4 separate regions of the Homo sapiens genome follow, and all the other regions are linked to region 3. Evidence: promoter capture Hi-C in 16 types of primary human blood cells and fetal thymus (Javierre and others, 2016). All regions are on one chromosome and are shown on one strand. The core of a region is centred on a gene start or on the middle of the fragment in contact, and the rest is flanking DNA. Distances in the headings are between cores, read along the strand shown.

Region 1 (7,604 bases), core at 3,174-5,673, 530 kb before region 3:
AGACCTCAGCACTTGACCTAAGTTGTTAACCAGCACAGAGCTTCTGGATGTGTCTACATGTGTCTCCCCTTTAGATTCCTCCATTTTAGGAAGCTTAGATTCCTTCTTTTTAGGAAGCTTTTACACCCTGAATTGGTATGTAACCAGCCCCCTCTTTCCCCCACTGATAAGATATATTGGAGGCGGCCTTTTACTTTTATTCTCTGGACTCCTTTACTGCTATCTCCATCCAGGAGCCGTTAGGCTCCTGACTCTCATCACTAGGACCACAGCAGAATAAGGGAACAGCATCTGTGGCTGAGTCACTGGAGGTGGGGGACCGTTAAGAATCAGACACATAATAGCTGATGTTCATCTTAGACCTTTACTAAGGCTACTTTCCCCATTTCTGGGCTTCAGAAGTCTTGTAATACATATGAGGGATAGTCACAGCTGGGAGGTGGGGCCAAGAGAAGCCGAAAGTCACATGACTGTAAGCTGACTAGCAGTTGAGGTGACCTGAGATAGTCGTCTTACCTACAGCTTTGATGATCTGGCCGCCTTCGAGGCTCTCCTAACCCTTTGGAATCTCTGTTCCCCCTCCCACCTACCTCCATCTCTCAGGAAACTTTTGACTACATTGGCAGCTCGAGGATGGTCTACGATATGGAGAAGGGCAAGTTTCCCGTGCAGTTAGAGAATGTTGACTCATTTGTGGAGCTGGGACAGGTATGTGGCATGTCCCCCAGCCCCTTCCTTTTTAATTAAATCTTCCTCCTTTGTTGTTCTGCGGTCTTAACTGCAGGAACCACCGCCTCTTCCCTTGACTTCTATCCCCTAGGCATGGCCCAGAACAGGAGACTGATTCTAAGTGTTGTTTCTTCATCCTCCCCCCAGGTGGCCTTAAGAACTTCATTAGAGCTTTGGATGCACACAGATCCTGTTTCTCAGAAAAATGAGTCTGTACGGAACCAGGTAACCTGAGCATCTCCCCTCATTTCCTATTCCTACAGCTCAGAATCCAGACCCCAACCCCTGCCCTGTTTCCACCAACCCCCAGGGCCTGTGAGACAGGGTAAGAGACAGGATTGGATTGGGTGTTGGCCAAAGGATGAACACCACAGCTGTTGTTGCTGCTGGGAAGAATCAGGAACTCAGTGACATTCCATTGGTTCCCTGGACTGGGTAGTTCTCTGATCATTTGTTGCCTAGCAGACTACCACTGCCCATTAAGGATAGGTGAGTGACTAGCTCCCTTCTTGCCTTGCTGCCCCATGGATCCAATTGTCAAGGCTGCTCTACCCAAGTCCTGGCTGTGTCACACTCGCTGCCCAACTTGTCCTCCACTTTCCTCATTGCTTGTTCAAAACCTTCCCTTCCCTCTAGGTCCACCTTTAGGCCTGCTTTTTTCCAGGTGGTCCTCTTTCTGCAATTCCAGCCTTCAGCATCATCCCTGCTCTGGACTCCTGTAGCATTTAAAGAATTGGTTATCTGTTTGGCATTCAGCACGCAGTTTTCTATTATTATTTGCTCCCTTCAATTCTGCACAATAAATAATAAGTGAAGCATCCACTGAGGATAAAGCAGAGTCTTGAAGACAGTAGAATTTACTTATAAATATGAAAAAAAAGGTCTCTTCTTTATGCCCCAATTTTCTAACTCTAAAAAGAATGGTGGAAGCTACAGGAAATTCAGAGAGCCTTGGTCCCAAAAGGCTTGAGGGATAAAGGTCTACTAGAGATAGGGTAGCTCCCCAAGCAGGGAACTTGAAGTATAGAGCATTTCAGGCCTAAAAGAGACCTCCTGCTTCCCATCCCCCAGCCTCCCATCAGTTAATCTCCCTCGTACCCCCCAGGTGGAGGATCTCCTGGCCACATTGGAGAAGAGTGGTGCTGGTGTCCCTGCTGTCATCCTCAGGAGGCCAAATCAGTCCCAGCCTCTCCCACCATCTTCCCTGCAGCGATTTCTTCGAGCTCGAAACATCTCTGGCGTTGTTCTGGCTGACCACTCTGGTGCCTTCCATAACAAGTAAGAATCACTTGGCCCTGCACCCTCTTCATTCTTGAAGAGAGTCTATTCTGCAGTCTGGGAGGAAGGTCACTGCCCTCCGCTTTCCCACACTACCCCCTCCAGAACTTCAGGTCCATCTGTATTCTTTGCTCAGTGGCGTTTTCACATCTGAACTGAAACCCTTATTTGTTTGACTGGATATTCATCTTAGAAACTCATCCTCACCCTTAGCCCTTTACTGTCAACAATCCTTGGTTATGGTTCCACTGCTCCCTAGCTCTCCAGGGTCCTGAGTTCCTCAGGGTTGCCAGCAGAGGGCATCATCTCAAACACAAGCATGGGAAGGATGGTGGGGGCCCTTTGGCTAGAAGACAGAAAGCAGTCCTTCTCTGGAACTCACCCAGAGGTGCCAGAAACAGTATTCATACTCTGTGAAATGTACCATGTTCTTGCCATGTGGTAGATGGCCATGGTTCAGTGCGAGGGTAAAAGTGCCTCCTATAGCTGATGGGGCTCCAGAGATACAAAGGGTAACTCTGGGTTACCCTTTAACTGCTCCTAACTTGAGGCCTTGGATAACAGGGGACTTCTTACTCAGGCTGGATTGCCAAGCTTCCCGAGGGCCAAATGAGTTTCGTAGTGAAAATGCTTGAGCTCTATTTCTGACCCCAGCCAAGTAGCACCTTCTCATTCATTTAGGGGAGTGACCGTCCTAGCACTTAGGGTCAGCTGTCTTCTCTAAAGCTATCCTTGTACCACTTTGGGGCAAGTGAAGATTCATCATTTGAACACATTTTGGATTTGATTATGTAGCTGACTTGACTTTGTGTGGGACAGGGATTTACTGATGGTAAAGACTGTGGAGCTCAGCCTCTCTTTTAAGATCTATCTCCTTGGGGCTCCATAAGGATCATCATGGTGATTTTATCAGTGTATTCTTATATATCAGTGAGCAGACCTGATCCTAAGACCTGCTAATCACCTCCTGCTCCCAGCTACCCTAAATATAAATGTTCATTGGAACAGTTATACAACTGATCTCATGATACATGGCAGAGTTCTCTGAAAATCATCTTAGCCATCCCCCATATCTCCAGCCCAAATGATGTAGAAGAGTCTCTCCTTTGTTTAAAGATCTGAGCTCATTCAGCTTTTCTACCTTGTCTGTCAGGAAAGTCTTTAATTTTCACTAACCACCTCACCCTCACTCCTACCTCCCTGTTCTCCACACCTTCTGCAATATGGGATCCTGATTGTCTCTCACCCCTTTCTTCTGATGCTGAAAATGAGATACTGAGTCCCTGCATAAGGAGCATTTGAGGGAGGAAAGGGGCAGAGCCCTGGCTAAATGTAGCCAAGGCTCATGCCGGCTTTCCTGGCAGATATTACCAGAGTATTTACGACACTGCTGAGAACATTAATGTGAGCTATCCCGAATGGCTGAGCCCTGAAGAGGACCTGAACTTTGTAACAGACACTGCCAAGGTAGCACTGAGCCAGGCTGGGTGGGAGCCTGGGGCACACAGTGAAGATGCTAGCATTTGAGGATAGGAGAGGTGGGCCATTCAGCCCCCTCCTCACCTACCACAGGCCCTGGCAGATGTGGCCACGGTGCTGGGACGTGCTCTGTATGAGCTTGCAGGAGGAACCAACTTCAGCGACACAGTTCAGGCTGATCCCCAAACGGTAAGCAGATGGGCCCTAGCTCCTTCTTTCTATTTACACAGCAAGCTGTCCCTATCCTCCCTTGCCCTAGTGTCCCAAACCTTGGAATTCCACATGACTGTTGATGCCGGTGAGAATGCCTCATGCCCCAGAGAGCTCTTGGGTGGGCCTCATCTGCATCTTATGAGCCAGCTACTGTCTCCCAACTCCAGTCTATCTGGCCAGTCTGGTTCCTGCCCCATGACTGGGTCTCCACTGATAATTCTTTCCCTGGGCTCCCTTCAAGTCACAGGGTTTTCTCTCTTTACTGTTCCAATCCTAGGTTACCCGCCTGCTCTATGGGTTCCTGATTAAAGCCAACAACTCATGGTTCCAGTCTATCCTCAGGCAGGACCTAAGGTCCTACTTGGGTAAGCATCTGGTGTGGGAATGGGACCCTTAGCTGAGGAAAGGGATAGAGAAAAAGTCTTTTGGTTTAACCTTTATTATTTTTTTTCTTTTTCCTCTCTGTTTTTCTTACCCCCTGTTTTCCTTTCTTTCTTCTCATATTTGATGGATCCTTTTCCATTGCCCTTCTTTCTGGCTGCTGCCAATCTTGGGCTTTTCCTATTTCACCCACCATCCACCCACCAAATCTTCCCTTCCCTTTGGTCTGCACTCAGGTGACGGGCCTCTTCAACATTACATCGCTGTCTCCAGCCCCACCAACACCACTTATGTTGTACAGTATGCCTTGGCAAATTTGACTGGCACAGTGGTCAACCTCACCCGAGAGCAGTGCCAGGATCCAAGTAAAGTCCCAAGTGAAAACAAGGATGTGAGTGGTGGTGGGTGTTGGAAGTGCCCTGGGGCCCCTTTCCCTTGGGAAAGTTGGAGGTTCTTCTAGACCTAGTTAGACCCAGGGGATTGGGATGGAGAGGTGGAGAGATGCAGTCCTCAGCAATTGGGTGTTGAAAAGCCTGGGTGAAAATGGACCATCTGAAGGGTAAAGGGACAGCAGCCAGTTAGCTCAATTGGTTAGAGCATGGCACTGATAGAGGGTAGAGGGAACGAGTGAGAAGAGGATCACCCTAGCCGTGTGTTGTGGCGCATCTTCTGTGCAGCTGTATGAGTACTCATGGGTCCAGGGCCCTTTGCATTCTAATGAGACGGACCGACTCCCCCGGTGTGTGCGTTCTACTGCACGATTAGCCAGGGCCTTGTCTCCTGCCTTTGAACTGAGTCAGTGGAGCTCTACTGAATACTCTACATGGACTGAGAGCCGCTGGAAAGATATCCGTGCCCGGATATTTCTCATCGCCAGCAAAGAGCTTGAGGTGAGATGGGGCAGGGGCATAGGTGGCAGGGATCTGTTTGACTTCTTTCTCTGCTTTCTTGTGTCATATAGCCCTTTCCATCTCCCATTTGCCCCACATTTGTAGCAAAAGCCTACTGCAAATCTGTCCCTGGTCAGCCAGCATGTTCCCTTAGGAGGCCTTTTTTTTGAGATGGAGTTTCATTCTTGTTGCTCAAGCTGGAGTGCAATGGCACAATCTCAGCTTACTGCAACCTCCGTCCCTTGGGTTTAAGCAGTTCTCCTGCCTCAGCCTTTCGAGTAGCTGGGATTACAGGCATGTGTCACCACACCCAGCTAATTTTTTTTTATTTTTAGTAGAGATGGGTTTCACCATGTTGGTCAGGCTAGTCTTAAACTCCTGACCTCAGGTGATCCACCTTTCTTGGCCTCCCAAAGTGCTGGGATTATAGGCGTGAGCCACTGCACCCGGCCAGGAGGCCTTTCTTCACAGATAGTTTGAGTAGGTGTTCATTCTGGAGAGCCCCTGTGGATCCCAGAACTCTTTCACAGCTTCAACTCCCGGCTGGCATTCCCCATCTGGCACAGCTGGGATGAGTCAGTCTAATGTACCGAGCTCCTGTCACAAGTCAGTAATGTAAGTGCCGCAAGGGAACCAAAGCCATGGGCCCTCCTTTCAAAATGCCTAAAATCTAAGTAATACAAGATGGAAGCAAGAACAGAGATGCTTTACTTCTCTTTTCAAATGGGGAGACAAAGTCTGTAGGCTGGAGAGATGTTGCCCATGATTATTCCATAGTTGGTGCTTAGAGCCAGCATCCGAATTCCCATGGCTCCAAACCCCAAACAGTTATCCAAAAAACTGCACTGAGTTCTGAGAATGCCTTTGTCCTTTCCTGCCCTCCCTCCCCCTGCAGTTGATCACCCTGACAGTGGGCTTCGGCATCCTCATCTTCTCCCTCATCGTCACCTACTGCATCAATGCCAAAGCTGATGTCCTTTTCATTGCTCCCCGGGAGCCAGGAGCTGTGTCATACTGAGGAGGACCCCAGCTTTTCTTGCCAGCTCAGCAGTTCACTTCCTAGAGCATCTGTCCCACTGGGACACAACCACTAATTTGTCACTGGAACCTCCCTGGGCCTGTCTCAGATTGGGATTAACATAAAAGAGTGGAACTATCCAAAAGAGACAGGGAGAAATAAATAAATTGCCTCCCTTCCTCCGCTCCCCTTTCCCATCACCCCTTCCCCATTTCCTCTTCCTTCTCTACTCATGCCAGATTTTGGGATTACAAATAGAAGCTTCTTGCTCCTGTTTAACTCCCTAGTTACCCACCCTAATTTGCCCTTCAGGACCCTTCTACTTTTTCCTTCCTGCCCTGTACCTCTCTCTGCTCCTCACCCCCACCCCTGTACCCAGCCACCTTCCTGACTGGGAAGGACATAAAAGGTTTAATGTCAGGGTCAAACTACATTGAGCCCCTGAGGACAGGGGCATCTCTGGGCTGAGCCTACTGTCTCCTTCCCACTGTCCTTTCTCCAGGCCCTCAGATGGCACATTAGGGTGGGCGTGCTGCGGGTGGGTATCCCACCTCCAGCCCACAGTGCTCAGTTGTACTTTTTATTAAGCTGTAATATCTATTTTTGTTTTTGTCTTTTTCCTTTATTCTTTTTGTAAATATATATATAATGAGTTTCATTAAAATAGATTATCCCACACGACTTGTACTGCTAGTTATTCTTCCCAGGCCACCTTGTTCAGCGAGCCTAGACTGGAAGTCATGAAGTTATCTTTTATGCTATCATCTTGGGCTCCAGAGGACCCAAGGAGTAAGGCTCTGTCAAAAACAGTTGAAGTCCTTTCAAATTGCAGAGCCCTGGTTCTCCTCTTGTAAGAACAATGTTAACATAGTTTCTTCTCACTTTGTAATGAACGGGCATTTTTTTTTTTTTTTTTTTTTTTTTTTTTTTTTGAGATGGAGTCTTGCTCTGTCACCCAGGCTGGAGTGCAGTGGCGCGATCTCGGCTCACTGCAAGCTCCACCTCCCGGGTTCACGCCATTCTCTTGCCTCAGCTTCCCAAGTAGCTGGGACTACAGGCACCCACCACCACGCCCAGCTAATTTTTTTTGTATTTTTAGTAGAGACGGAGTTTCACCATGTTAGCCAGGATGGTCGTGACCTCCTGACCTTGTGATCCACCCACCTCGACCTCCCAAAGTGCTGGGATTACAGGCGTGAGCCACCGCGCCCGGCCATGAACAGGCATTTCTTTATTCACTCTGAGACACTGGCTGGGGTACAGAGATGAAGAGAATATAACCCTAACCCTCGAGTAGCTCAGCTGGGATGAGAAGAGAGACAGACATTCTCACAACTACATGTAATCCAGTGTAATAAAAGGAATAATTGCAGCATATCCCAAGTGCTCTGGTAGCACATAGTGAAACTCAGGACCATGTCAGGGGTGACATTCAAGTGATGATTTAAAGCGTTCACCAGTTGTGGAAGCACAGAGTCAAGAAAAGGAGTGAGTCATGTTTGGGAGATGGTAAGTTCAGTGTGTCTGAGCCATAAGCATCAGCAGGAGGCGAGGTTGGGCTAAATCCCGAAGTTCTTGGCTGGCATGCTGCTAAGGAGTTTGGGTTTCTGTTAATG
Region 2 (6,785 bases), core at 275-2,774, 570 kb before region 3:
ATCGCACCATTGCACTCCAGCCTGGCCAACAAGAGCAAAATTCTGTCTCAAAAAAAAAAAAAAAGAATGATTGGTTTTCAAGAGGGAGCTAAGCAAGAGCAAGCGTAGAAAGCTTATTCAAAGAAATAATTACAGAAAATTTTCCAAAACTTGAGGAAGAAATATCCAGGTACAGGAAGGCCTGAGAACACCAAACAGGTCCAACCCAAGTAAGACTACCCTAAGGCATATAAAAGTCAAACTCTCAAAAGTCAAGGACAAAGAAAGGATCCTAAAATACACAACAGAAAAGAAGCAAAGAACACACAAAGGAGCTCCAATTTGTCTGGCAATAGATGTTTCAATGCAAACCATACAGGCCAAGAGAGAGAGGAATGACATTTTCCAAGTGCTCAAAGAAAAAACCTGACATCTAAGAATACTGTACCCAGCAAGATTATTTTATTTTCCAAATATGAAGGATAGTATTTCCCATACAAACAAAAGGTGAGAATTTACCACCACCAGATCCATCTTACAGTAAGTGTTAAAAGTAGTTCTTCGATCTGAAAGAAAAAAACACTAATGTGGTAGCGGAAGTTACTGCAGCTGCGGTGTTGTGCTGTGGGGAAGGGAGAAGGATTTGTAAACCCCGGAGTGAGGTTCTGCTTACCCGAGGCCGCTGCTGTGCGGAGACCCCCGGGTGAAGCCACTGTCATCATGTCTGACCAGGAGGCAAAACCTTCAACTGAGGACTTGGGGGATAAGAAGGAAGGTGAATATATTAAACTCAAAGTCATTGGACAGGATAGCAGTGAGATTCACTTCAAAGTGAAAATGACAACACATCTCAAGAAACTCAAAGAATCATACTGTCAAAGACAGGGCGTTCCAATGAATTCATTCAGGTTTCTCTTTGAGGGTCAGAGAATTGCTGATAATCATACTCCAAAAGAACTGGGAATGGAGGAAGAAGATGTGATTGAAGTTTATCAGGAACAAATGGGGGGTCATTCAACAGTTTAGATATTCTTTTTATTTTTTTTCTTTTCCCTCAATCCTTTCTCATTTTTAAAAATAGTTCTTTTGTAATGTGGTGTTAAAAACGGAATTGAAAACTGGCACCCCATCTCTTTGAAACATCTGGTAATCTGAATTCTAGTGCTCATTATTCATTATTGTTTATTTTCATTGTGCTGATTTTTGGTGATCAAGCCTCAGTCCCCTTCATATTACCCTCTCCTTTTTAAAAATTACGTGTGCACAGAGAGCCCACCTTTTTCAGGACATTGCATTTTCAGGCTTGTGGTGATAAATAAGATTGACCAATGCAAGCGTTCATAATAACTTGCGAATTGGCCCTGATGTTCTAGCATGTGATTACTTCACTCCTGGACTGTGACTTTCAGTGGGAGATGGAAGTGTTTCAGAGAACTGAAACTGTGGAAAAATGACCTTTCCTTAACTTCAAGCTACTCTTAAATTTGAGGGTCTGGACCAAAAGAAGAGGAATATCGGGTTGAAGTCAAGATAACTGATAAGGAGAGAGTAATGACTAACTCCAAAGATGGCTTCATTGAAGAAAAGGCATTTTAAGATTTTTTAAAAATCTTGTCAGAAGATCCCAGAAAAGTTCTAATTTTCATTAGCAATTAATAAAGCTATACATGCAGAAATGAATACAACAGAACACTGCTCTTTTTGATTTTATTTGTACTTTTTGGCCTGGGATATGGGTTTTAAATGGACATTGTCTGTACCAGCTTCATTAAAATAAACAATATTTGTAAAAAAAAAAAAAAAAAAAAAAACAAAAAAAAAAAAAAAACACTAATGTGCAAAAAGAAAACTTTTCAAGATATAAAACCCAAGATGTAAAATTAAGTTCATAGACAAACCCAGAAGACTATATTACTATAATGGTGGTACACAATCCACTTATAACTTTACTATGAAGCCCAAAAGACAAATATATCAAAAGCAATAATAGCTATAGCAACATGTTAAAGAGATAGTCAAAAAGGCAGGAACAGAAATGGAGTTAAATGTATAATTTCTGAGTGTGTTTTAGCCTTTGTTTTTGTTCTTGTGTTTGTGATATAAAATAAGCTGTCATCTCTTTAAAATACCTTATTCTATCTATAAGATTTTTTTTTGTGAATCTCATGGTAATTACAGCACAAAAACTATTAATATATACTCACTAAAAATAAAAAGCATCAAATTAAGACATATTACCAAAGAAAATCACTTAACCACAAAAGAAGACAGTAAGAAAAGGAAGAGAGAAGCCTCAAAAAAAAACAAAACAAAACCAGAAAACAAGCAAAAAACAGCAGTAATAAGTCCTTGCTTATCAATAATATCACTGAATGTAAATGCTCTCAATTCTTCAATTAAAAGGCATAGAGTGGCTAAACGGATAAAGAGAGAAGACCTAACTATATGCTGCCCTCAAGAAACCCATTTACCTATACAGACACACATAGACTGAAAACGAAGGAGTGGGAGATATTCCATGAAACTGGAAACCAGAAAAGAGCAGGCGTAGCTATACTTACATGAGATAAAACAGACTACCAAACCTAAGATTGTAAAAAGAGACAAAGAAGGTCACTATATAATGATAAAGGGGTCAATTCAGCAAGAGGAAATAACAATTATAAGTATCTGTGCACCCAACACCAAAGCTCCCAAGTATATAAAGCAAACACTAATAGATCCAAAAGGAGAGGTAGACTACAATATGATAATAGTAGGAGAGCTAATACCCCACTCTCAAAAACAGACAGATCATCCATACAGTAAATCAACAAAGAAACAGTGGAGTTAAACTACATACTAGATCTAATAGGCCTAACTGCAATTTACAGAACATTTCACCCAACGGCTACAGAATATTCTTTTCATCAGCACATGGAACACTCTCCAGAATAAACTATACTTTAGGCCACAAAACAAGCTTGAAAAAATTGTAAAAAATAGAAATTATATTAAGTATCTTTTCTGAACACAATAGAACTAGAAATCAATAACAAGAGGAACCTCAGAAAATACAAACACATGTAAGTTAAACAACATGTTCCTGAAAGACTAATGGATCAATGAAGAAATTAAGAAGGAAATTTAAAAATTGCTTGAAACGAATGAAAATGGCAATACAATGTAACAAAATTTATGGGATATGACAAAAGCAGTACTAAGAATGAAGTTTATAACATAAACACCTATGTCAAAAAAAAAAAAAAAAAAAGGAAAGACTCCAAATGAACAATCTAATGATACACCTCAAGGACCTAGATAATAAAAAACAAGCCAAACCCTAAATTAGTAGAAGAAAACAAACAATAAAGATCAGAGCAGAAATAAAATTGAGACTAAAAAAAATACAGACTATCAATGAAACGAAACACTTGCTTTTTGAAAAGATAGTATCAACAAACTGTTAGCTAGACCAACTAAGGAAAAAGGAGAGAAGATCCAAATAAATAAAATCAGAAATGAGAAAGGAAACATAACAACTGAGACCTCAGAAATACAAAGAATCATTAGAAACTATTACGAGAATGACATGCCAACATACTAGAAAACTTACAAGAAATGGATATATTCCTAGACACATACAACCTACAAAGATTGAACCACGAGGCCAGGGATGGTGGCCCACGTCTGTAATCCCAGCACTTTGGGAGGTGGAGACAGGTGGATCACTTGAGGTCAGGAGTTCAAGACCAGCCTGGACAACATGGCAAAACCCTGTCTCTACTAAAAACATAAAAATTAGCTGGGTATGGTGGCACAGCCTGTAGTCCCAGCTACTTGGGAGGCTGAGGCAGGAGAATTGTTTGAACCCAGGAGGTGGAGGCTGCAGTGAGCTAAGATTGCCCTGCTGCACTCCAGCCTAGGCAACACAGCGAGACTCCAACTCAAAAAAAAAAAAAAAAAAAAAAAAGATTGAACCACGATAAAATAGAAAAACTTCTAAAAACCAGTGCCTAGATCAAAGCCTTAATAAAAATTCTCCCATCAAAGAAAAGCCCAGGACCTGACTGCTTTACTGCTGAATTCTACCAAACATTTAAAGAATTAATGCCAATCCTATTCAAACTCTTAAAAAAAAAAAAAAAAAAAAAAAAGGAAGAGGAGGGAATATTTTCAAACTCATTCTATGAGGCCAGCATTACTCTGATAACAAAACCAGGCAAGGACACCACAAAAAGAGAAAACTACAGGCCGATATCACTGATGAACATAGATGCAAAAATCCTCAACAAAATATTAGCAAACCAAATTCAATAGTATACTGATAAGATCATTTACTAAGATCAAGTGGGATTCATTTCAGGGATGCAAGAATGGTTCAATATACATCAATAAACATGATATATCACATTAACAAAATCAAAAATAAAAACCATATGATAGTTAAGCAGATGCTGAAAAAACATTGGATAAAATTCAACATCCCTTTATAACAAAAGTTATTATCAACATGGGTAGAGAAAGAGCATACCTCAAAACAATAAAGGCCATATATGATAAACTTACAACTAATATTACACTTAATGGGAAAAAATTGAAGGCCTTTTCTCTACGGACCAGAAGGCAAGGATGCCCACTTTTACCACTTTTATTCGACAAAACACTAGAAGTCCTGGCCAGGTCAAGTAGGTATGAGAAACAAATAAAGGACAAACAAATTGGAAAAATTACCCTTGTTCACAGATGACATTATCATATACTTAGAAAAACCTAAGACTCAACCAAAATGATAAATTCAGTCCAGCTGCGGGATACAAAATCAACATACAAAAATCAGTAGCATGACCAGGTGCAGTGGCTCATGCCTATAAACCCAGCACTTTGGGAGGCCAAGGTGGGCAGATCACTTGAGGTCAAGAGTTCGAGACCAGCTTGGCCAACATGGTGAAACCTCGTCTCTAAAAAAAGTACAAAAATTAGCCAGGTGTGGTGGTGTGCACCTGTAGTCCCAGCTACTCGAGACGCTGAAGTATGAGAATCACTTGAACCTGGGAGGGGGAGGTTTCAGTAAGCCAAGATCGAGCCACTGTACTCCAGCCTGGGCAATAGAGCGAGATCCTGTCTCAAAATATCAGTAGCATTTATATATGCCAATAGTGAATAATCTGAAAAAAAATCAAGAAATCCCATTTATAGTAACTACAAAAAATATAAAATGCCCAGGAATCACTCTAACCAAAGAAGTGAAAGGGCCATACAAGGAAAACTATAAAACTCTGATGAAAAAAGTTGAAGAGGACCCCCAAAAATGGAAAGATAGTCCATGCTTGTGGGTTGAAAGAATATTGTAAAAATGATAGGGTAAATTACTACCTAAAGTAATTTACAGATTTATTGTATTCCCCATCAAAATATCAAAGACATTCTTCACAGAAACAGAAAAAAAATCCTAAAATTTATATGGCAGCACAAAAGACCCCAAATAGCCAAAGCAATTCTGAGCAAAAAGAACAAAGATGGAGGCATCACACTACCTGACTTCAAAATTTGCTACAAAGCTAGAGTAACCAAAACACTGTGGTACTGGCACAGAAACAGACACATAAACCAATGGAACAGAACAGAGGACCCAGATATAAATCCACAAATCTATAGCTAACTCATGTTTAACAAAGGTGCCAAGAACATACAATAAAGTGTTGGGAAAACTGGGTAACTATATGCAGAAGAATGAAACTCCTATCTCTCACCACACACAAAAATCAAATCAAAAAAGGATTAAAGACTTAAATCTAAGACCAGAAACTATGAAACTACTAGAAGAAAACATTGGGGAAATGTCCCAGGACATTGTCTGGGCAAAATGCTCATCAATAATTATCAGAGAAATGCAAATCAATGTGTCCTTAACACAGAGGCTGAAATATATATACATATATATAGAAAAAAAGACATGCGAATCAAATCCACAATGAGATATCATTTCACCACAGGTAAAATGGCTTGTATCAAAAAGACAGGCAATAACAGATGCTGGCAAGGGTATGGAGAAAGGGGAACCCTCCTGCACTGTTGGTGGGAATGTAAATTAGTATAGTCACAATGGAGAATAGTATGGAGGTTCCTCAAAAAACTAAAAATAGAACTAACATATTATCCAGCAATTCCACTACTGGCTATATATCCAAATAAAGGAAATAAATATATCAAAGCGGTATCTGCATCCCCATGTTTGTTTATTGCAGCACTATTTACAATAGCCAAAATACGGAATCAACTTAAGTGCTCATCAAGGGATGAATAAAGAAAATTACATACGCGCACGTGCACACACACACACACACACACACACACAATGGAATATTATTCAGCTATAAAAAAGAATGAAATCCTGTTATTTGCAGCAAAATGGATGGAACTGGAGGCCATTATGTTAAGGGAAGAACAAAGAGACAAATATGGCATGTTCTCACTCACATGTGGAAGCTAAAAAGTGGATATTATTAAGATCGAGAGTAGAATGGGAAGGAGGGTGAAGGAGGAAATGGAGGAAAACAGAATATAAATATATTTATTACCACTTAACTGTACACATAAAAATTGTAAAGATGATATATTTTATTTGTAAAATAATTTCTATGCTCCTGGGATTAGCATTAATTAATCACCTAAGGTAGAAAAATAGGTCAGAGTCCAGAAGACCTGGCTACTTTACCTTGCTGGCTGGCAGTTTCTTAGATATGGCGATAATGTAACCGGTTCACTCACCATTCATGCGCCAGATCTTCACTTGACGATCATCTGCCCCAGATACAATAAGGGGC
Region 3 (7,299 bases), core at 1,947-4,446:
TGCAGATCCAAAGGTGTTGTAGTTGGCCCAGTTGCCGTCCCCCTCTGGGTAGACTGCTTTGCTGCCCTGCTGACTGGACCAGCGATCGCCCACCGTGCACTTCCCACGCATGTCATTCTCGTGCACGCTGGCCACCAGGGTCCAGCCGCCACCCCCAGAGGTCATGTCACAGAAGGTCTGGTAGATAACACCATTCTCAGTGCGGAGAAAATACAGGCCATCTGTAGAGAGAACCAGCCCAGAGCCTCCCTGTCTGAGAGCTGAGGGTTCATTTCAGCCCCATGACAAGAAAGGCCCTAGGAACCAGAGACATGGCCTAAAGGCTCCTGTCCTGACTCACATCACTAAGTGCTCCCAGGGGTACTGGGGCCTCCCTGAGTTCAGAAGATCATGCTCCTGTAACTGAGGCAGAACATAGAATTGTATAAAATCCCAGTGACATTTTTCATAAAGTTAAACATGGAATTATTGTATGACCCAGCAATTCCACTGCAGGTCTATCCCCAAAAGAATTGAAAACAGGGCCTCAAGCTGATGCTTTTACACCAGTGTTCATTGCAGCATTAGTCACAAGAGCCAAATAGAAGAAACAATTCAAATATTCACCAACAGGTGAATGAATAAACAAAACATGGTGTGTGTGCATATATGTATCTGCAGTGGATAAAAGGGAATGAAATATCCATGCTACAGCATGGACAAACCCTCAAAACACTGTGCTAAGTGAAATAAGCCAGACACCAAAGGACAAATACCATATGACTCCAATTACATGAGGTAACTACACTAGGCAAATTCATGGAGATAGAAAGTAAAATGCAGCTACCAGAGACTGAGGGAAGAGAGTTATTGCTTAATAACTCCATGTTATTTTTTGTTTTGTTTTGTTTTTGTTTTTGTTTTTGAGATGGAGTCTCACTCTGTTGCCCAGGCTGGAGTGAAGTGGCACTATCTTGGCCCACTGCAACCTCTGCCTCCTGAGTTCAAGCGATCCTCCCACCTCAGCCTCCCAAGTAGCTGGAATTACAAACATGTACTCCACACCCAATTGATTTTTGTATTTTAGTAGAGACAGGGCCCCACCATGTTAGCCAAGCTGGTTTCAAACTCCTGGCCTCAACTGATCCACCCCTCTCAGCCTCCTAAAGTGCTGGGATTACAGGCCTGAGCCACCGCACCCGGCCCCTCCATGTTATTAAGTACAGAGTTTCTGTTTGGGGCACTGAAAAAGTTCTGCATATGGATAGCTGTGATGGTTGCACAACCTTGAAGGTAATTAATGCCACTGAATTGCACACTTAATGTTGCTTAAAATGGCAAATCTTATGTAAATTATAATATACATATACTTTACCATAATTTTTTAACTAAAAGACAAAAAGACTCCCAGAAGACACAATCCTGATACCCTGACTGAGCTCTGTTTGAATGTTTCATCACTCACCAAATGCACTAGGACATTCGTCTTTGATTTCCTTGCAGCTTCTGGGCAGAGATGGAGACGAAGAACAGGTCCATTCCTTGAAGTAAGTATTAGCCTCATCTAGGGAATACACAGGGTTTATTCTCATTCCCGGTTTGACACAAAACCTACCCTCTCCTATCACTAGTCCCACGCTCATTCCACCACTGTAGCAGAACCTCGCTGCCCGGGTGGTAAGGCCTGAGACAGCCAGTGTCATATCCACTCAGCCCATCAGTGTCACATCCACTCAGCCCATCGGCATCATATCCACTCAGCCCATCCGACCTGACAGCCAGCACAGGCTTAAAGTCTGCCTCCCGCCACAAGACCTGTCCTTGTGCTGGGTCCTGCCCTAAGCACTGAGTAATCAAAGACATTAAAGTTCCCCAGCAAGAGCTTGCCTCTAGAGGGAATTGCTAACAAGTCAACAGAAAATTGTATTGACAAGAATAAATGGTAGAAGAAAGGCAAACTCAAGAGAACAAAAGAAAGACTCTGAGGTAACAGTGGAGAATGGAAACGCCAGACAGTAAGCGGGGCAGTTGCCTGGGAGAAGAAGGCAAGACGGGTTGTCTCATGTCTTAGTCACAGAAGACCTTCCAGTCCAGGTGACATCTTAGCTTATTCTGAGAGAATAAACATGATTTATCAGTAGGAAGCCAATCCAAGGCAGGGAAAACAGCATATCCAAAGGCCTAGAGAAAAAAAAAAAAATACAGCGTAGTCCAGCTGTAGAACTACAAGCTGCTTAATATGGCTGAAACATGGGGTGTGAAGTAGGGAGTGGTGAGACTAATCTCTACTCCAAAAAGTCTGCAAACTATTCGAACAGTCTAGGGGAAAGCTGTGAGGTCAGAGGTGACTGACCTCAGTTTCCTCATACCTAAAACACAGTTAATAAACAGTGCTTTTGCAAAGATGAAGTAAGAAGATATTTCGAAACAGCCTTTTCTTTAAAAAAAAAATTTTTAGACGTGAAGAAAAATATAAATTTTAAAATGTCATTGTTATTCTTGTTGTAGAGAGGAAAACTGTGGAGAGAACATTCTCCAGGCACAAAGCAGACCATGTAGTTCCCATGGAAATCCCACAGCCAAGGCCACAGGAGTGGGCAGTGGCTGGAAGGTGACACAGTTCTTGCCACAGCCCCCTCAGGGCCACACAAAAGCACAGAGCCTGGACCCAGGACATGCCTCAAGCAATACCTTCACTGCCACAGGCCAGATTCCGCCAGAGACCAGAAATCGGCACTCAGTCTACATGCAAGCCAGCCGCTGTGCATCTCAAGGACATGCTCTGTGTCCTGGGAGAGACCAGGATCCCGGAAGTCATCCAGCTGAAGGAACTGCTGTCCCTAGCAGCGTGACTCACCTGTACTCCATCCTCTGGTGGTCGCTATGAGAAACAGCAGGAAGCTGAGTTGGTTCATTGTAATCTAAAGAAAGCAAGATGAAGGTCACCATCTTGGCCATCATTTTTCTCTACATCCCTGCCCCACCCCTGTCCAGTCTTACAAAGACTCCAAAACCCCTTGCCTTTTGTTTAAACTTCACACATCTCTGAGACCAAAAGCAGACCTAAGCTGAAAACAGGATTCCCCCAACTCACAGACCTTGTCTGAGTCTCAGCTGCACTTTCCTTGGGTACAGAGAGCTCCTTCACTCCCTCCCTCCACTGCGCCCTGGAGCTCAACAGAGTGCAGCTTTCTCCAAAAACGCTCCTGATGTGGAATGAGGTGCAGAAAGCTTTATGGAGGAAGCCCAGTGGGGCCAACCAAGGTTTCCAGCCTCACCCTCCCCTGGCACAATGCCCAGTGCAGGGGAGGCTTCTGGTTATCTCGGGGAGGTTATTTATACAGTGGAATTAACAGGTTCTAAAGAAAAAACCAATCCTAAGAATCACCTGCTAGCGTTGTTCCTGGATCTGGGGGTTTCATGGACCTGTGTCAAGTAGGAAGTAGACGAAGAGATTAACAAGAGTTGGTGTTGGTTTTGGGTTTTTGTGCCTTTCTTTCTTGCAAAATAAAAACTTTCTCTAAATTAAGCATCTGTTGGCTTGGCACATTGGCTCAAATCCCAATACTTTGGGAGGCCAAGGCAGAAGGATCACTTGAACTCAGGAGTTTGAGACCAGCCTGGGCAACATAGGGCAACCTCTTCTCTACTAAAAATAAAAGTAAAAAAATTAGCATGGCATGGTGGTACTTGCCTATAGTTTCAGGTGGGGCTGAGGCAAGGCAAAAGGGTAACTTAAGTCCCAGAGATAGAGGATTCAGTGAAATATGACCGTGCCACTGTACTTCAGCTTAGGTATCTCAAAATAAATAAATAAATGAAATTAATCATTGGCCATAATTATCAATTCATAGAAATAGAAAAAGGAAATTTTAACAAAATGGGAAAGTGATCATTTCTGAATAAATTGGTAAAAAGGAATGGAGGGGAAAGAGATACAAAACACACAAAAAAATACGAATAGAAAAGTTTTAAAAAATATATAAATCTTTAGTTTGAATAATTTAGTTTCACACAAAGACTCACTACTTTGTCTTTAATTTTGTCATTTTGCCACAAACGAGGGAAAATTTACTACAGGATTCATTTGAAACTGAATCAATACGAAACCTCTCTGCTGCTTCGAACCTCCTGTCTTATTCCTGCTCCTATGTCATGAAGTTCTCAAATGCTACCCTGCAGCTGTAATAGAATTACTCAGTTCTTCCCCAGTGATATCATACATTTAATACATAATGTCATTATAGCATTAATAATACTGCAACCTTTTCTTACAAAGATTGTGAATATCTTTTTTGTTAAGCTAATATTTCCTATTTGTTGGTTCAAAGTACTGATTTGCAAAAAATACTCACATATTGATAGAAGAAAATAAAATAGCACCCAAGAAGAAAAACTGCAAAAAAAAGTTATACTTTTGTAAATTTAAAATCTATTAGAAGCTATTTGCTCTGTGTATCTGGAAAATAATTAATTAAATAAAATTAAATGTATTAGAAACTAAATTAACTCATCAGTATAGGTAACAAAATGAACATACCCAGCTTTCATATTTACAAACAACAACCTCTTAGAAATAGAGGTCTCAGCCAGGCGCTGCGGCTTACACCTGTAATCCCAGCACTTTGAGGGGACGAGGGTGGCCAATCACTTGAGGTCAGGAGTTCAAGACCAGCCTGATCAACACGGTGAAACCGTGTCTCTACTAAAAATATAAAATTAGCTGGGCACGGTGTCAGGCGCCTGTAATCCAAGCTACTCGGGAGGCTGAGGCAGGAGAATTGCTTGAACCCGGGAGGCAGAGGTTGCAGTGAGCTGAGATCGCACCATTGCACTCCAGCCTGGGCAACAAGAGTGAAATTCCATCTCAAAAAAAAAAAAAAAAAATAGAGGTCTCTAAGTTTACAGTTCACAATAGTAAATACATGTATATAAAGTTAACACCAAGGGCCCAAGATCTAGAGAAAAAAATTAAACATCCCCTCAGTTGTTCATTACTGTGTGTAACTAACCACCTGAAAACTTTATGGCTTAATAAAACAGTAACATATTTGCAAAAATAAAAAAAGAAAATATACACTTATACTACTTTCTTTAGTTGATTCTAAGACACTTTTTTTGTATTTTGACATCTTTAATATCATTATGCATCTCATCCTTAATGGTACATGATGCCATCTAATAGACTGGGAAAACAGTACATCCATTTTAAGGACATTACCCCTTCTAACCATCATCATCCAATCAGTGATTGCGTCCCATTGATTCTACCCCTACTTCCTCTTGAATCTGTTCCCCACACAACTTCCTCCAAACCCCACTGCCCTGGACATTTATTTAGTTCAGTCTGGTTCCTTGTAGCTGTAACTAATAGAAACCCCATCTCAAAGTGGCTTTTCTAAAAAGTAAATCTATTACCTCATGAAATAGAAAATCGAGAGAGAGGGCAAGATCCAGGCTTGCTTGACAGCAGCTTCTCTTTATTTTATTTTATTTATTTATTTATGTTGAGACAGGGTCTCACTCTGTTGCCCAGGCTGGATGGAGTGCAGTGACACAATCTCAGCTTACTGCAGCCTCAACCTTCCAGGCTCAGGTGATCCTCCCACCTCAGCCTCCCAAGCACCTGGGAATACAGGCACACACCACCACACCCTGCTAACTTTTGTATTTTTGGTAGAAACGAGTTCTCACCATGTTGGCCAGGCTGGTCTCGAACTCCTAGGCACAAACAATCCTGCCTCAGCCTCCCAAAGTGCTGAGAGTATAGGTACGTATGTGACAGTATAGATGTGCATGAAGATAGAAGAGTGTGGAAGAAAGCCCCTCACCACCAACTCACTCCAGCCCCACATCTACATCTCCAGTGACTTGGAGAAGGTTTGTTGTAAAATTACACATACAGAGAAAGATATAAAACATTAAATGTGCAGTTTAATAAATTACAAGAAAGGCAAATACCTGTGTAATTATCATCCTAGCTAAGAAATGAAACTTTAGCAGCACCCAGAAGCTTCCCATATGCTGCTTCCAGATAACAGACCTCTCCCTTCCCAAAGGTAATTACTGGCCTGACTGTGATGGAAATCAGCACTTCCTTGTGCCCATACCACATTGTTCCAAATATTTTAGATTGATAAAATGTCTTGATATCCAGTAGAGCAAGGCTTCTCACTTTGCTCTTCTTTTTTGGTTATTCTTGGTCGTTTACCTCTACACATACACACACACACACACACACACACACACACACACACATGCACACACCCTTTAGGATTTTATTGGAATTACATTGAATCTATAGATCATTTAGAAATAATTTACGTCTTTAAAATATTGAGTGTGGCCTGTTTCTTCATTTATTTGTGTTTTTATTGCTTTTTCGTATCTTATAGCTTCCTTATAGGGATTTTGTGTATGATTTGCTATTTGTTCCTTAGTATTTGACTTTTTTTTTCTTTTTTTAGACAGGGTCTCACTCTGTCACCCAGGCAAGTGATTCTCCCACCTCAGCCTCCTAAGTAGCTGAGAACACAGGTAAATATCACCACGGCCAACTAATTGTTTTATTTTTTGTAGAGATGGGATCTCACTATGTTGCCCAAGCTGGTCTCAAACTCCTGGGCTCAAGCAATCCTCACACCCTTGGCCTTCCAAAGTGTTGGGATTACAGGCGTGAGCCACCATGCTGGCAGTGTTTGACATTTTTGATGCTATTATAAATGCCATATTTTTGAAATTTTATTTTCTAATTGTTTGATGCTTATATATAGAAATACAACTGATTTCACAAATATATATATATTTGTGAGATATATATATATTTGTAAGATATATATATATCTCAATGACAGCACAGGAAAGACAAAGTATCAAAATAAATATAAATTTTCAGCTTGAATAAATTTAGTTTTATGAAAAATAATATTTTTTCTTACTTTTCTCATTTTGCTACAAACCAATGAAAACACTCTTTTGGTGGGGGGTCATTCTAGAGTAGCACTGGCCCCCAGACTACATTTTGGAATCACTGATCCAGGACAAACTTCCTCTGATGCTTCAATACCTGCTTTGCCATTTCTGTCCCAGTGTCACTCCTCAATTTCCTGAGCATAAATGTCACTCATGCCTCTTCTCCCTCAACAATGGGATGGATCACTTCCTGCCCGGTGTTGCCACATCCCTTATGCCCATTATTATCTTAACACGATAACATGACCTTTTCACTGTTTACATGTTTCTCACAGCAGTTCTTAAGAAAAGGTTTATGAGGCACCATATTTGTTAAGCTAATACTTTATTTGTGGAGAGAAAATATTG
Region 4 (6,726 bases), core at 3,833-6,332, 730 kb before region 3:
AGAGGAAAGGATGTAGTAAGTCTAGAAAACCAATAACAGCAACTATAACAAATAATTGCAATAAAACATTTGAAATCCTCGATAAGCAGTTTGTGTTTAAAAGTTCTACAAAGGCCGAGCGCGGTGGCTCACGTCTGTAATCCCAGCACTTTGGGAAGCTGAGGTGGGCGGATCTCTTGAGGTCAGGAGTTTGAGACCAGCCTGGCCAACATGGTGAAACCCCGTCTCTACTAAAAATACAAAAAAAAAATTAGCCAGGCATGGTGGCGGGTGCCTGTAATCCCAGCTACTTGAGATGCTGAGGTTTGAGAATCACTTGAATCCAGGAGGCAGAGGTTGCAATGAACCGAGATGGTGCCACAGCACCCCAGCCTGGGCAACAGAGACTCCATCTCCAAAAAAAAAAGTTCTAAATAAGCCAGGTGCTATGGTTCACGTCTACAACCCCAGCACTTTGGGAAGCTGACGCAGGAGGATTGCTTGAGCCCAGGAATTTGAGACCAGCCTGGGCAACACAGTGAGACCTCATCTCTATTAAAAAAAAAAAAAAAAAAATTAGCCTGGGGTGGTGGCCCACACCTATGGTCCCAGTCACTTGGGAGGCTGAGGGAGGAGGATCGCTTGAGTCTGAGAGGTTGAAGCTGCAATGAGCCATGGTTGGACCACTGCACTCCAGCCTGGGTAACAGAGCAAGACTCTGTTTCAAAAAATAAAAATAAATAAATAAAAATTCTAAATAAATAAAACTTTGTTTTTAGCGAGCATAACTCCCTAAAAATCCAAGAAATTCAGCCAAAACAAAGCAACAGCATCAATAACAAAAAAAATCCTAGAAGCAATAAATTCAAAGTTACAGGGTATATGGGTATCAGTTTTCAAAGAAGCAAATGTATCCCTAAATATTAGGGAGACAGAAAATACAGCATAAAGAGCTTCTATTTACAATAGAATGAAAACAAATTACGCTCAAGGTTTACTGTGTGCAGCACATAGTAACTATTAAAGAAAATTTAAAAGTACAATGAGAAAAATAAAAAAACATGAATTCATGGAAAGCTAAACTTGACTGCCATTTGGGAAGGCAGAACGTAGTAAAGATAAAAATAAGTTACTATGAAAGAGTCAATTCAATATCAATTAAAATCCTCGCTGCATTTTTATAAAACATGACATATTGGTTGTGACATTCAGCTGCAAGAGTAATCAGGCAAGAATCTCAGAGGTTTTTTCTAAGTAATTATGAAGCAAATGAATAGATCACTGATGCTAACATATTTACCCCAACAGATTTTAAAACACATCAGACCACTGGCCGGGCGCGGTGGCTCACGCCTGTAATCCCAGCACTTTGGGAGGCCAAGGTCGGCAGATCAAGAGGTCGGGAGTTCAAGACCAGCCTGGCCAACATAGTGAAACCCTGTCTTTACTAAAAATACAAAAATTAGCCAGACATGGTGGCGCATGTCTGTAGTCCCAGCTACTCAGGAGGCTGAGGCAGGAGAATCGCTTGAACCCGGTAGGTGGAGGTTGCAGTGAGCTGAGATTGCACCACTGCACTCCAGTTTGGGCAACAGAGTGAGACTTCGTCTCAAAAAAAAAAAAAAAATCAGACCAAAGTGGCAATTATCAAAACCTTGTAGCATTAAGATAAAACCTGAAAACTCATTAGTCATTCAACATCTATTCAGGGACTATTTGTGGACCAGCTGCCCTGTGCCAAGCACTATCCTAGGAGCCAGGTATATAGCTGTGGAAAAAAACAGGGAAGGTCCCTAGGGTCATGGAGAACCAGACAAGTCAACAAGACAAGTCAATCAGACAAGTCAACAGTTAACAGGCAGGATAATTTCAGAGGGAGAGAAGTGTTGTGAAGATCAAAAGTGATAGAGAGAGGGCTGGCGCCGGAGGGGCTGTTTTGGATTTAACTATGAGAGAAGGCCTCTCCGAAGAGGTGGACTTTTGAGCTAAGATCTCTAGAACAAAATGAGGTTTCTAAAAATAATTTCAATTGATTGTATCTCCATAAAGTTGCTTTTGGGCAATGCCCATCTGCAAGACTGAGCTAAGTGTTATTGTCACATAGATGATGCATAGAAAAACATATGAATTTTAACTTTAATTCTAACCTTCTTCTTAAGAATTTTATGTTCATCTACATTAAACACAAAGACTGGGAGAAAACATTTGTGTTATATATGACAAGGGTTTCCTACAAATCAATATAAAAAAGAAAACAATGGAAAATTGGGCAAATTGTAAGAATGACAATTTACAAAATAAATAAATAAAGTCCAAGACCAGGCATGGTGGCTCATGCCTGTAATCCCAGCACTTTGGGATGCCCAGGCAGGCGGATCACCCAAGGTCAGGAGTTCAAGATCAGCCTGGCCAACATGGCAAAACCCCATCTCTACTAAAAAATACAAAAAAATCAGCTGGGTATGGTGGCGTGTGCCTGTAGTCTCAGCTACTTAGAAGGCTGAGGCACGAGAATCGCTTGAACACAGGTGGTGGAGGTTGCAGTGAGCTGAGATTGCACCGCTGCACTCCAGCCTGTCAAAAGAAAGAAAGAGAGAAAGAAAGGAAGGAAGAAAGGAAAGAGAGAAAGAAAGAAAAGAAGAAATGAAAGAAAGAAAGAAAACCAGAAAGCCAGTAAACATAAGAGAAAATGCTCACATTGACAATTTAAAAATGCAAATTAAAACTACAAGATATCAAAGTTCACTGATTATAATAGTAAAAATCAAGGTCATCTAGCATAATCAAAGGTGTGGAAGGCAGACATTCTTGCATCCTGTTGTTGGGATGCAGATAGATAAACACTTTTAAAGACCAATTGGCAGAATCTTTTAAGATTGTTAATGAGTGTACTCTATGATTCAGCAACAGGAACTGATTCTACAGAAATAGAAGCTCAAGGGCCTGATGATATCTATGTGCAAGAATGACACTCTAGCAATTTTATTAATGGTTAAAAAAATGGAAAATATCTCATAAATCCATCAGTAATGGGAATGATTGAATAGAGCATGGTCAATACAGAATATGGAAGCCTCACAGCACTGAAAAAAAGAAGCTTTATGTACATGACAGGTTGGTAGAGAGTTGAATGATTGTTTAAAAGTTGAAAAATACCTCCTTTTAGATATCTATTTGTATAAACATAGAAAAAAGACTGGAAGGACATGCAGCACATTGTTACCAGCAGTAACTTCAGCAGTGGGGAGAATCTGAGTTTGGAGGGAGGGAAGGTGGGGCTTTCAATTTTTATCTTAAACATTTTTAATAGAGAAGAAAAATCCAATCTGTTAAAGAAATAGACGATCATTTATCCCAGCTGGGAAGGGAGCATTTCTATTTCTGAATATTCAAGGAGGATTGCATCAGCACCAAGATGAATGTTTCCAGATACAGTCATATTTTTAAAAAGCATGCCCAACCAAAATGCAATTAAATAAATATCAGGCCAGGCTTGGTGTCTCACTTATGTAATCCCAACATTTTAGGAGGCCAAGGCCAAGGATTGCTTGAGCCCAGGAGTTTGAGACCAGCCTGGGCAACACAGGGGCACCCCGTCTTTACTAAAATAAAATAAAAAAAATTAGCCGGGCATGGTGGCACATGCCTGTGGTCCCAGCTACTTGGGAGGCTGAGGTGGGAGGATCACTTGGACCTGGGAGGTTGAGGCTGGAGTAAGCCATAATCGCACCATTACACTCCAGCCTGGGCAACAAAGTGAGATCCTGTCTCAAAAAGTAAATAAACAAATATCAAACAACAGAATGGGAAAATCTATGTGACGTGCATAATTGAAAAATATATATAATGGTTGACAGAAAAGTATAGATGCTTCAGATTATTCTTGGAAGGAGGTAGAATCCTATGGACATGCAAAACATATATACAGTTAATATAGTCAAAGCACTTACTGAGACACCAGAGAAGGTCAATGGAAGAGGTAAGTACATCATTTTAAAATGAGAAAATGCAACGCTATCACATGGAAAAGCATATTTTTACCCTCACTGAGAAGAGCTGCATATTAATCCACAAATAAAACTACTACTGAATTCAAGCTACCTATTGAGCACATACTATATATGTCACATAGTGCTTTTTGTAGAGCACCTCACTTAAGGTAGAAGGTATCCTCTTTTAAAAATAAGAAAAGAGAGGTACAGAGGTTAGGTAACTTGCTCAAAGCCACACAGCTGACAAGTGGAGGAGTTGGGATTGAAATCCAGGACTGGTTCCAGAGCCCAAGATCTGATCTATTCTGCTAGCTGATCTCCTAAAATTAAAAGATCAAACCCAATGTTAGTGGAAAAGTGTGCCTTGCTAAAAAACACACACAGAGTACCTGCTTTTTTTTTTTTTTTGAGATGGAGTCTCAAAAACAGACGGGAGAATATTAGTCCAAACTGCAACTGCACCATTTTGTAAGCTCCCTGCTATGGTTTTTTGTTTGTTTGTTTGTTTGTTTGTTTGTTTGTTTGTTTGTCTGAGATGGAGTCACTCTGTCACCGAGGCTGGAGTGCAGTGATGCAATCTCAATTCACTGCAACCTCTGCCTTCTGGATTCAGATGTTTCTCCTGCCTCAGCCTCCCGAGCAGCTGGGATTACAGGTGCCCACCACCACACCTGGCTAAATTTTGTATTTTTAGTAGAGATGGGGTTTCACCATACTGGCCACGAAGGTCTCGATCTCAGCCTCCCAAAGTGCTGGGATTACAGGCATGAGCCACCGCGCCCGGCCGAATACCCGCTTTATTTTTGAGTCATCTATTTGGCATACCTCTAAGCCTCCAAAGTCTGCAGGACCACACAAGAACTTTGTTCTAGTTCTGCCCTCAGACTGAAACTCTTTCTGTAGCAGGGCCTGCTCCAATCGTCCTCAAACCCAAAGACTGAGACTTCTAGGTTCTTGGTTAAAACCTTCATGAGGCCTTTGCGACAGCAGACCTGGACCATCGCCAAGGCAAGACTTCTGGATTCTTGGTTAGAACTTTCAGGAGGCCTTTGTGATGCCAGACCTGGGTCATTGCCCCAGCAACCACAGGGCCTGGGACTGGGGGGTTCCCAGATCCTTGAAGCTCACTCCGCCTCCTCACTCTCACTGCATTTCCCACCTTCCTGTGGGCCTTGCGGCATCTTCATCACTGAGGCACCTGGTTACGCTTCACCTCTTGTTTCCTGCCCTCACTGCATTCCCTCACCTCTACCTTTTTATCCTTCCACCCTAGGCTTCTCTCCTCCCTCTTCCCTCACTCCTGACTCTTCCTCTTCCCAGCGGACGGCTGGAGGACCGCTCAGTCTCTCCTCTCTCACTTCCCTTCCTCTCTCTCACCTTCACCACCCAACACCTCCCTCCCTGCCTCTTTCTTTCTGCTCCCTCATTCTCTCCCCACCACTCTCTTCTCGTGGCCCCCTTGCCCGCGCGCCCTCTTCCCTTCCCCTTGCCTCACTCTCTCAGCTTTCTTCCCACAGTTGAGCTCGGGCAGCTCTTTCTGGGGATAGCTATGGGGCTTTGGGGGAAGAAAGGGACAGTGGCTCCCCATGACCAGAGTCCAAGACGAAGACCTAAAAAAGGGCTTATCAAGAAAAAAATGGTGAAGAGGGAAAAACAGAAGCGCAATATGGAGGAACTGAAGAAGGAAGTGGTCATGGTGAGGCCACCCAAAGTGGGCGCTGACAGCTGCCCTCTGAAAACACTCCTCCACCTATCTTTAACATCTTACCTTGAGAATGAAACACACAGGCCAGAGCCACATCTCTTCTCTGTTAGGCTTTGGAGGGAAGGAGAGGGTTAAAAAAAAAAAAAAAGATACACACAGAGAGACAGGGCAGCTCAACAGCAAGCACAGGTATATTGCAGACACCTGTGGAAGTGGGGGATCAGCTTAATTCCACAGTCCACTGCCACTTACAGGCTGGGTACTTATAGGGATGGATGGGAGGAGTCTGGGCTGTATGGCCTGCTGCCTGGCAGGATATCGATAAGATGTTCTCATGATGAGGTGATTTTTGGCCCTTGTTTCCACAGAATATAATCATGGTATTCCCTGGACCTTTGCCCAGCAGGATGTGATAGGGATGTTTCTTTAGTGGGGTCTTTGTCTTTAATTGGGCCTTCGTCTGCCCTGTGGTCAGGTGGTTAGGCAGGCTGTTTCTCTGGCCCGAACCCCCGTGAAATGTTTCACTTTGACCAAGGCCTGTAAAATAGTGGGGAGCTAGGCCGGGCGTGGTGGCTCACACCTGTAATCCCAGCACTTTGGGAGGCTGAGGCAGGCAGATCACCTGAGGTCAGGAGTTTGAGACAAGCCTGGCCAACATGGTGAAACCCCGCCTCTAAAAATACAAAAATTAGCTGGTCCTGGTGATGGGCCCCTGTAATCCCAGCTGCTTGGGAGGCTGAGGCAGGAGAAACACCTGTTGGGAGGCAGAGGTTGCAGTGAGTCGAAATCGCACCACTGTACACCAGCCTGGGCAACAGAGTGACTCCATCTCAAAAAAAGAATTGCAGGGAGCTTACAAAATGGAGCAGTCTCAGTTTGGACTAACATTCTCCAGTCTGTTTCTCCCCCTCTCCCTGGAAATGACCTGGGCCACCCCCTGTCCCTCAATGCCTCTACTGTCCCCTCAGGATGATCACAAATTAACCTTGGAAGAGCTGAGCACCAAGTACTCCGTGGACCTGACAAAGGTGAGTAAGAAGCTCCCTGAGG

The links. The method cuts DNA at HindIII sites, captures the fragments that hold promoters and counts their contacts. A CHiCAGO score of 5 or more calls a contact.
Region 1: a contact is called between a fragment that was not itself captured here and the fragment with the promoter of ITLN1 in region 3, in 5 of 17 cell types (naive CD4 T cells, non-activated CD4 T cells, naive B cells and 2 more). The highest score is 7.1, in naive CD4 T cells.
Region 2: a fragment that was not itself captured here is called in contact with the fragment with the promoter of ITLN1 in region 3 in 1 of 17 cell types (total B cells); the score reaches 7.4 in total B cells.
Region 4: the fragment with the promoter of ATP1A4 here is called in contact with the fragment with the promoter of ITLN1 in region 3 in 11 of 17 cell types (total B cells, total CD4 T cells, naive B cells and 8 more); the score reaches 16.3 in total B cells.

The regions. Positions count from the first base shown.
Region 1 is chr1:160,352,284-160,359,887 of GRCh38, forward strand. NCSTN (nicastrin) reads left to right here. Exons shown (of 17, transcript NM_015331.3): 9 at 604-708; 10 at 877-954; 11 at 1,835-2,007; 12 at 3,372-3,474; 13 at 3,580-3,675; 14 at 3,977-4,064; 15 at 4,317-4,471; 16 at 4,758-4,970; 17 at 5,866-6,666. The coding sequence ends at 5,988. Among named protein-coding and RNA genes, the nearest start is that of NHLH1, 11 kb to the right of the region's middle. The HindIII fragment of the contact is 3,648 bases long and covers 2,600-6,247 here.
Region 2 is chr1:160,316,702-160,323,486 of GRCh38, forward strand. COPA (coat protein complex I subunit alpha) reads right to left here. Exons shown (of 33, transcript NM_004371.4): 8 at 6,730-6,785. It also overlaps the pseudogene SUMO1P3. Among named protein-coding and RNA genes, the nearest start is that of COPA, 23 kb to the right of the region's middle. The HindIII fragment of the contact is 2,829 bases long and covers 111-2,939 here.
Region 3 is chr1:160,881,984-160,889,282 of GRCh38, forward strand. It overlaps ITLN1 (intelectin 1), which reads right to left and starts at 3,197. Exons shown (of 8, transcript NM_017625.3): 1 at 3,078-3,197; 2 at 2,837-2,900; 3 at 1,445-1,543; 4 at 1-221. The coding sequence starts at 2,894. The HindIII fragment of the contact is 4,692 bases long and covers 1-3,208 here.
Region 4 is chr1:160,146,521-160,153,246 of GRCh38, forward strand. ATP1A4 (ATPase Na+/K+ transporting subunit alpha 4) reads left to right here and starts at 5,083. Exons shown (of 22, transcript NM_144699.4): 1 at 5,083-5,667; 2 at 6,645-6,704. The coding sequence starts at 5,521. The HindIII fragment of the contact is 4,407 bases long and covers 3,075-6,726 here.